2 separate regions of the Homo sapiens genome follow, and region 1 is linked to region 2. Evidence: promoter capture Hi-C in 16 types of primary human blood cells and fetal thymus (Javierre and others, 2016). All regions are on one chromosome and are shown on one strand. Each heading gives the region's core, a stretch centred on a gene start or on the middle of the fragment in contact. The rest is flanking DNA. Distances are from core to core; before and after follow the strand shown.

Region 1 (3,219 bases), core at 159-2,658, 2.3 Mb after region 2:
TCTTTAAGCTTGTTAAGGGGGAAAAAAAAGCTTCAATCTGAAACTTTAATTCACCTGGCAAGGTTTAGGCAGTTGTTTGTCCATCTAAAGTATATATTTACATAGACTGCGGGGTGGAGGAAGTAGAACAAAAAAGAGGCAAATTTTAACCTAGAGTACTCAAAGTGAACAGTAAATAGTTCAAGTATTCTTGATAACAATAAGCCACGTGGCACATGTAACAACTACTTTAAAAGTTACTCTAACTTTTACAAAGTTCACATAAAAAGCTATCTCAAAAATCCCAGGAGCCTAAATTCAGTCCATGAACTTTATTTGTTGTGCCATGTTAATTTATGGAGTCTAAATTTCAAGGGCAGAATTTCTTCTCCAATACCTGTAGATTCAAAGACAAAGACAAGGGATCCCACCACTTAGTGTAAGTTTCTCAGTATCTTCTTTCCACTCGACAATGACAAAGTTTTATCAAATGGACCCTTGGGAGTTTGACTTCTCCTCACTATGAATGGTTTGCTTATTGCATGCTAATGTAGAAAAGTTCTCCCACAACTGATCTGCTTAGGGACAGTGTCCCTGGTGCCCTGGGTCAGCCTTTGTAAACAGAACAGGCTTTTCTGTATGCCTTTGAATATGGTCTTTCCGTTTTCTCAAAATTGTAGTGTACTCTGCACATGGTGGGTAGAAACACCCTTCCAGATTTTCTTCCTTGGCCCAAGATCATCTAGGTCTTATGCAATTCACAGGGGAAAGGAGTAGTATGCAGGACATGCGTAAATTCTCCTTACCATGTGGTTCTTTCACATTGCTGTTCCTTTAAGAGAACTCTTAGGCAATTCGGCATATGAAAATGCAGCCTATTGTCAAATTTGTGAATTATAAAGCGTTCCGACCCCACAACATTGTATATTTTGTTTGCTTGTTTCTGTCCGCCCCAACATTTAGAAGTCTGGTACTTAGTAGGGACTGGGCTGGGTAGAAAAAGAATGCGGTCTTAATTCCCACAACCCTGCCTCCTTGAAGTAGGTGAATCCTAAGCCTTTAGAAACGAACCCCCAGAAACCCTAAAACTTAAACCCTCAGAAACCTTGAGGGTCCTAAATAACCTTGTTTGTGAAACTTCGCAGGAAGCAGCCGGTCGTGGAGTCGCAGAGGCTCCAGCGGTCTGGGCAACCTGGAGGGCAGTGGCTCGGCGGGGCGCGCGGGGTTCTAGCGAGACAGGTGCGCGGCCGTGCGCGCCTGCGTGCCGGTCCCTCCTGAGCCCCGCGGCGGGCGCGACCCCGGACGGCGGACTGCAGGCGCTCCACGCCGGGTTTTCCGCCGCTCTCCTAGCACAGACAGTCCCACAGCAGCCCCACAGACACACACGCTCGCGCCCGCGCCTCCTCGTCTGCACTTCAAAGCGAGTGGCGCCCGGCTGCGCCGGGGGGATGGCACTGCGAGGTGGCGGGGCCCCCGGGGCAGAGCTCGAGGGGAAGGACGCGGCGGGTGGCACGGACAGGGACAGGCTTTTGCAATTCGGAATCTTTTCGTAAGGGGGTTGAGGAGGAGCCAGGCAGCGCCGAGGGCCGAGAGGGGCGTGAGGGGGAGTGTTCCCGGAAAGCTGCGGCGTTGGAGCCGCGCTGCGCCTGCCGCCCGAGGAGTTGAGAAAGAAAACAGGAAACGTGGTGGCCGCGCACCCGGCCGCGGCTGATTCATTCACTTCAAGTGCCGTGCAGAAGGCTCGGCAGGCGGGGCGGGCGTGGGGCCGCGGCTCCGGGTTGGGGACCGAGGAGATCCGGCTGTGGACCAGACGCTCCTCTGCGGGGCGGGCACCCAAGCGCGCTCGCCACCCCCTCGCCATCCGCTAGAGCCGGGCTCCTGGACTGGGACTCGGGCCCGCCGCACAGTTGAAAAGTCGCATAGTGGTTTTTCCGCTCGCGTCGCTGTGTGAAAGTTGGCTCGCCGCTCTTTGCACGCCCTCCCTGGAGGCCGACCCGAGACGCCAAGCTGGAGAGACCGTGCCTCCCCGAGGCCGGCCGCCCCGCGAGCACAGCCTCCGCCCCCGTTGCACTGCCGGGCTGGGCAATATGAAGGAGCAGCCCTCATGTGCCGGCACCGGGCATCCGAGCATGGCGGGGTATGGCAGGATGGCCCCCTTTGAACTCGCTAGCGGACCCGTGAAGCGCTTGAGAACTGAGTCCCCCTTTCCCTGTCTCTTCGCAGAGGAGGCCTACCAGAAACTGGCCAGCGAGACCCTGGAGGAGCTGGACTGGTGTCTGGACCAGCTAGAGACCCTACAGACCAGGCACTCCGTCAGTGAGATGGCCTCCAACAAGGTAAGCCCCGGTTCTGCTGTCACTGGTGCCCCCAGGCTGCTGATTCCCATGCCGGCGAGCCACTGGTACCCATAGCCCCGGGAAATAAATTGAGAGGTTTTTTAGGCTTACTGCATGTTGGCTATTCTGCTCCTTAGAGGGAGGTTCCTGTTTCCTTGCTTTGCCTCCCCTAGTCACGCCAGATAAACATTTTCCAAAAGCAATTTGACGTGCTAAATTTAAGTATCTCCCAAGACACAGGGTTCCTAAGTAACACTGAGCCCTTGCAGCAGAAACCCAGTAGGGTCCATGGGCATTGCATGTTTAAAGGTGTTCTTGGGATTCCCGGTTGAAAATAAGAATTGGTGGATGTCTGTGAAATCACTTGAATGTCACCACCTAGGGCACTCAAACTCAGAAGAGTTCATCGAACTTGGAACCTTCACCCTAATTCATCTAGTTGTCAGGGTACCCCGCAAGAACTGAGCCTTTATATATTCAGTTGGCCATACATATCCGCAGGAAACATTAACAGAGTTAGAAGGTTCCTTATGATCATTACTTTTGTTTCCATTAATCTTGGAAAGAAAGCCCAGTTTTTTGAGGTCATTTAGTACAAGGAGGCTTCAACTAGGCATCTGTGCCATATGTGCTAAGGTGCTGGTCTTGGCAGTTAATGGAGTTTTGAGGGCTGAGAAGTAACCTTCAGCCTGGGACAGCCTTAAAATAGCACGGAAGGCAAGGTATAGTGTTTTCAGTTTTGCTGTATTTTTTGGATTTCCTGTTCTTTTTGTCTTTAGTTATGCAAGGAGATAATTGGAATTGTGTATGTTTTTAGTGGCTATTTGCCTGTGCATGTCGTATGCAGATGGCTGAAGGATTCAGCCAGTAAGGACTGGTAATGTTGTGAGACAATTAGTAATAG
Region 2 (3,651 bases), core at 775-3,274:
AAACATTCCCATCGCTATGGCTGAAAAAGATCTGGACAGGGGAAAAAGAACATTTTAGGGGAGGGGGAACAGGAGACACTTTTAAACTAAGGTATTTGAGAAAACTCTCAGGATCTGTCAGAGAAAGGAAGGCTGTGCAGCTCTAAATCACAAGTCCTTCTCTCGCCTTTGTCAAATATATTCTACTTTACAAGCCCTGAAAAGAAAGAGACTCTTTTGTTTGGTTTCTCCTTTTCGGAGGGTGACAGAAAACTGAAAGGGGCACAAAAAAACCTGAAAATGAGAACAAAGTGCTGGGTCGTGCCGGGCTGCCGCGCCGCGGGGACGCGGGAGCGGCCGCCGAGCCCTCTGCCTCGCGCTCCTGCAGCCCGCTCGCCCCTTTGGCTGCGAGCGGCAAATCCGCAACTGCCGACCGCGGCTCGCCCGGGGCACCACGACCTGACCACACAGCGCAAACAAAACTCGGGCGGCGGGGCACAAGGGCTGCGCCGCGGCCCGCACAGGGGTGTCTGGAGGCAGCTTCAGAGAAAAGGGAAGCGCTAGCAGCTCCTCCTCAGGCTCGCGCCCTTTAATTAGTAAGCGTCCTACGGGCGAGATGTCCCTCCGGAGACGGAGTCCGGTCCGCCGCCACCTCTCCTCTGCGCCGCTTGGAGACTGAGGAGGCGCAAAGAAAACGACATTTAAACCCCGGGCGGCCAGTGGAGCTCGCCCGGGCCAGACGCCACAGCGACCCGGGAGCGCCGCGGCCGCTCGCCCGTCGGAGCCCTGGGAGGAGCGGCGGCCGAGCGGCTTTAAGTGTATTCCCCTCCCCTCAAATCGCGTGGGGCGGGGGCCAGAAAGAAAAAGGAGCGAGCGACAGGCAGTGGGAGAGGGGGGGAGCGCCGAGCGGCCGGGCCGCGGCCGGCATTGTCTGCGGCCCGCGCCCCCTCCCCCGCCCCGCACAGCCCCGCCACACACACCCTCGCCGGAGGCCGGCCGTCCGCCCGCGCCTTTGTCCACATCCACCCCCGAAACCGGCGAACAGCCCTCCAGGATGTGCTCCCCGGAGGAGGGCGGGTAGGGGAGCGCGGGCCGGGGGCGCGGAGCCCACGGAGGGGCGCGTCCTGCTGATTCATTTCCCACTCGCGCTGGCCCGTCCGGGGCGACGGGGGGCAGGGAAGGGAGGGAGGAAATGGGCGCTCCGCTCAGGAGGACCGTCCGGGCCAGTGAGGACACCCGCAGGGGTGCGGGCGCGCGCGGAACTAGGGGCTGTCCGCAGGAGAAAGGCGGGCACCCCCCCCCCACCCAGGGACTGACGGACGGACAGACGGCTCGCGGCTGCCCCGTGACTCACCGACTTGCAGGACGTTGTCTACGCAGCCGCTTTCCAACAGCGCGATGCCCCGGCGGAAAGGCAGCCGCGTCTCGTCGCCGCCGTCCGCCGCCCCGGCAGCCCCCACCGACGGGGCCCCGGCCCCCGCGGCGGCGGCGGCGGCGGCGGCGGCGGCGGCAGCGGCGGCGGCGGCCGAGGTTGCGGCCGCCGAGGTTGCGGCCGGGGAAGACGAGGAGCCGCCGCCGCCGCCGCCGCCCGCGCCGCCGCCGCCACCGCTGTCGTCGCCGGGGCCGCCCGCGGCGCCGCCGCCGGTGTTGAAGGACGAGTACATGCAGATCTCCCGCTCGCTGCGGGGGAAGGACCAATAGACTATGCGGCGCTGCACCGGCTCCGGGATGCGCTCAAAGCGCTCCTCCACGCGCTGGAACGGCCACTTCTCCGCCACCCTGCGCGCCGCGATGTCCAGCAGCGACTCGGGGCTCTGGGTCTTGCCCGGCGGCAGCAACCCCAGCGCCGCGCCGCCCCCGCACGCCGCCGCCGCCGCCGCGCCACCCGCCCGCGGGCCTGGCCGACAGGCAGAGCTGTAGCCGCCACCCGCGCCGCCGCCGCCGCCGCTGCTGCCCCCGCCGCCGCCGCCGCCGCCCGGCCGGCAGCAAAGCCGTTTCGCGGGAGGAGGCTGCTGTCCGCGCTCCGCCATGACCGCGCCGCTTCTAACCCGACAGCGGAAGTGCCGGGACCCTATAAACGGCACTAGGAAGCGCGACACGCACACGCCGTCGCGACGCCACGATGCCATCTAGGGCCCGCCGCTCCTTGTATGGGCACAAGAGGTGGGGCCTCCGCTGTGACGCAGAAGCTGGGGCGGGGCTCTGATAGGGGGAACCTAGGGCCGGGGGCGGGGCCTATGCAAATCGCTGGGCTGAAACATAAATAGAGCGCTTGGCGGACACGGGGGTGGCGGGGGCGGGCCGTTTTGGTGCCCGGTGGGTTGTGAGAATGTCAGGCTGCTGTGACGCGGGGGAGGGCGGGGTCAGGCGGGGTTCCCGTGGGAGGGGGCGGGCCGCCGGGCCGGGCCTGAGGTGGGTGGGTCTCTGCGCCCCCTGCCTACCCCACTTCCCCCTCCAGTTCTCAGCTTCTCTTTGAAGTCCGAGAAGTGAGGATGCGCCTCGTGGGTCGCAGCGGGGGAGGAAAGGGGAGAAGAGGGGGTGAGCGAAGGGGAGGGTTCTGAGCTAAATGGAGGGCGGGGCCCACGGGCCGATGCCCCACCCCCCCCGTCCCCCTGCCCTTCGGGGGAAAAGCCTCTGGGCGGAGGAGGCGCTTTCAAAACAAAGAAATGCGGCATGGACCCCGGGGGACGCGGGTGGAGAGGAAGGCGGAGGAGGCGCGGCCAAACCCGAGCGCCTGCCAGCTTCCCCTCCAGCCGGTCCAGGGGAGCTCTCCCCACCACCCGCCGAAGCTGCAGCGGGGAAGGGGGAGGATGGCTGCGTTCGGCGGCGGCTTTCCACTTCACTTTTGCAGACCTGGTGTGGAAGGAGCGCGCCCGCTCTGCTAACCCCGCGTGGCTGCAGTGCGCCCATCCCCGAGCCCCGCGTCCGTTCTGTCTCGGCTGCAGGGCTGTGCCCGAAAACACGCAGAGCGCTCGGAACGTGCCCAGCAGCCGCGCGACCCGCGTCCGGTGCCGGCTGCCACCGTCCCGCCCTCGCTGCCTCAGCCCCTCGGGCCAGGAAACCGACCCGCCCGCTAGAAGTCGAGGAGCTCCGGCCGCCCTTGTCGCCCCCGCGGCCGCGCGGACAAGGCCCCGCTCCAGGCCGGGGTTTCTCCAGCTCGGGGTGGAACGCAGCCCGGGCTGTGGGGTTAGCAGACACACCTTTGTGAGTACACACGCCGCAGGGCGCGCGCAAGCCCCACGGGCTCGCGCACACATCGCCCAGCAGGCGGCAGACGGCGTGCCAGGCGGCGGACGGCGGCTTCGGGCGCACTTGGGTCTGCGGCCCGGCTCCCACCCCGGCACCCGGGTGCGCGGCGCCCGGCTGCGCGGAGTCCAGGCGCTCGGGACGCGCGCCGCGCTCTCAGTCGCCTTGGCGGCGCCCGCAGGGCCAGTCCCCTCGGGTCCGGGCAGTGTAGGGGTGGACCAGGGAGAGCGAGTGCAGAGTGCAGCTCGCTGGTGCCTGGACGCGGGCGAAGGCGGAGAAGCGAGTCCCTCTCTGAACCTGGAGCCCTGCGGACATTGTTCGCGCTCCACAGAGCTCGGTCAAATCTGCTTCCAAGCCGCAGACTTAATTACCGCGTCGGAGACAGGCTTCCTCCCAGCCCCACCTTCTGTTTTTACTGTAAACAGT

What was found. The method cuts DNA at HindIII sites, captures the fragments that hold promoters and counts their contacts. A CHiCAGO score of 5 or more calls a contact.
Region 1: the fragment with the promoter of PDE4D-AS1 here is called in contact with the fragment with the promoter of ZSWIM6 in region 2 in 3 of 17 cell types (fetal thymus, total CD4 T cells and naive CD4 T cells); the score reaches 8.5 in fetal thymus.

The regions. Positions count from the first base shown.
Region 1 is chr5:59,037,955-59,041,173 of GRCh38, reverse strand. It overlaps PDE4D-AS1 (PDE4D antisense RNA 1), which reads right to left and starts at 1,408. Exons shown (of 2, transcript NR_198970.1): 1 at 1,104-1,408. It overlaps PDE4D (phosphodiesterase 4D), which reads left to right. Exons shown (of 15, transcript NM_001104631.2): 6 at 2,203-2,315. RefSeq lists a silencer at 1,970-2,039. The HindIII fragment of the contact is 4,461 bases long and covers 33-3,219 here.
Region 2 is chr5:61,330,631-61,334,281 of GRCh38, reverse strand. ZSWIM6 (zinc finger SWIM-type containing 6) reads right to left here and starts at 2,024. Exons shown (of 14, transcript NM_020928.2): 1 at 1,334-2,024. The coding sequence starts at 2,009. It overlaps LOC105378994 (a long non-coding RNA gene), which reads left to right and starts at 2,066. Exons shown (of 2, transcript XR_007058781.1): 1 at 2,066-2,142. RefSeq lists silencers at 1,130-1,239, 2,020-2,159, 2,270-2,669, 2,880-2,949, 2,980-3,559 and 2 more and an enhancer at 3,364-3,651. The HindIII fragment of the contact is 10,173 bases long and covers 1-3,651 here.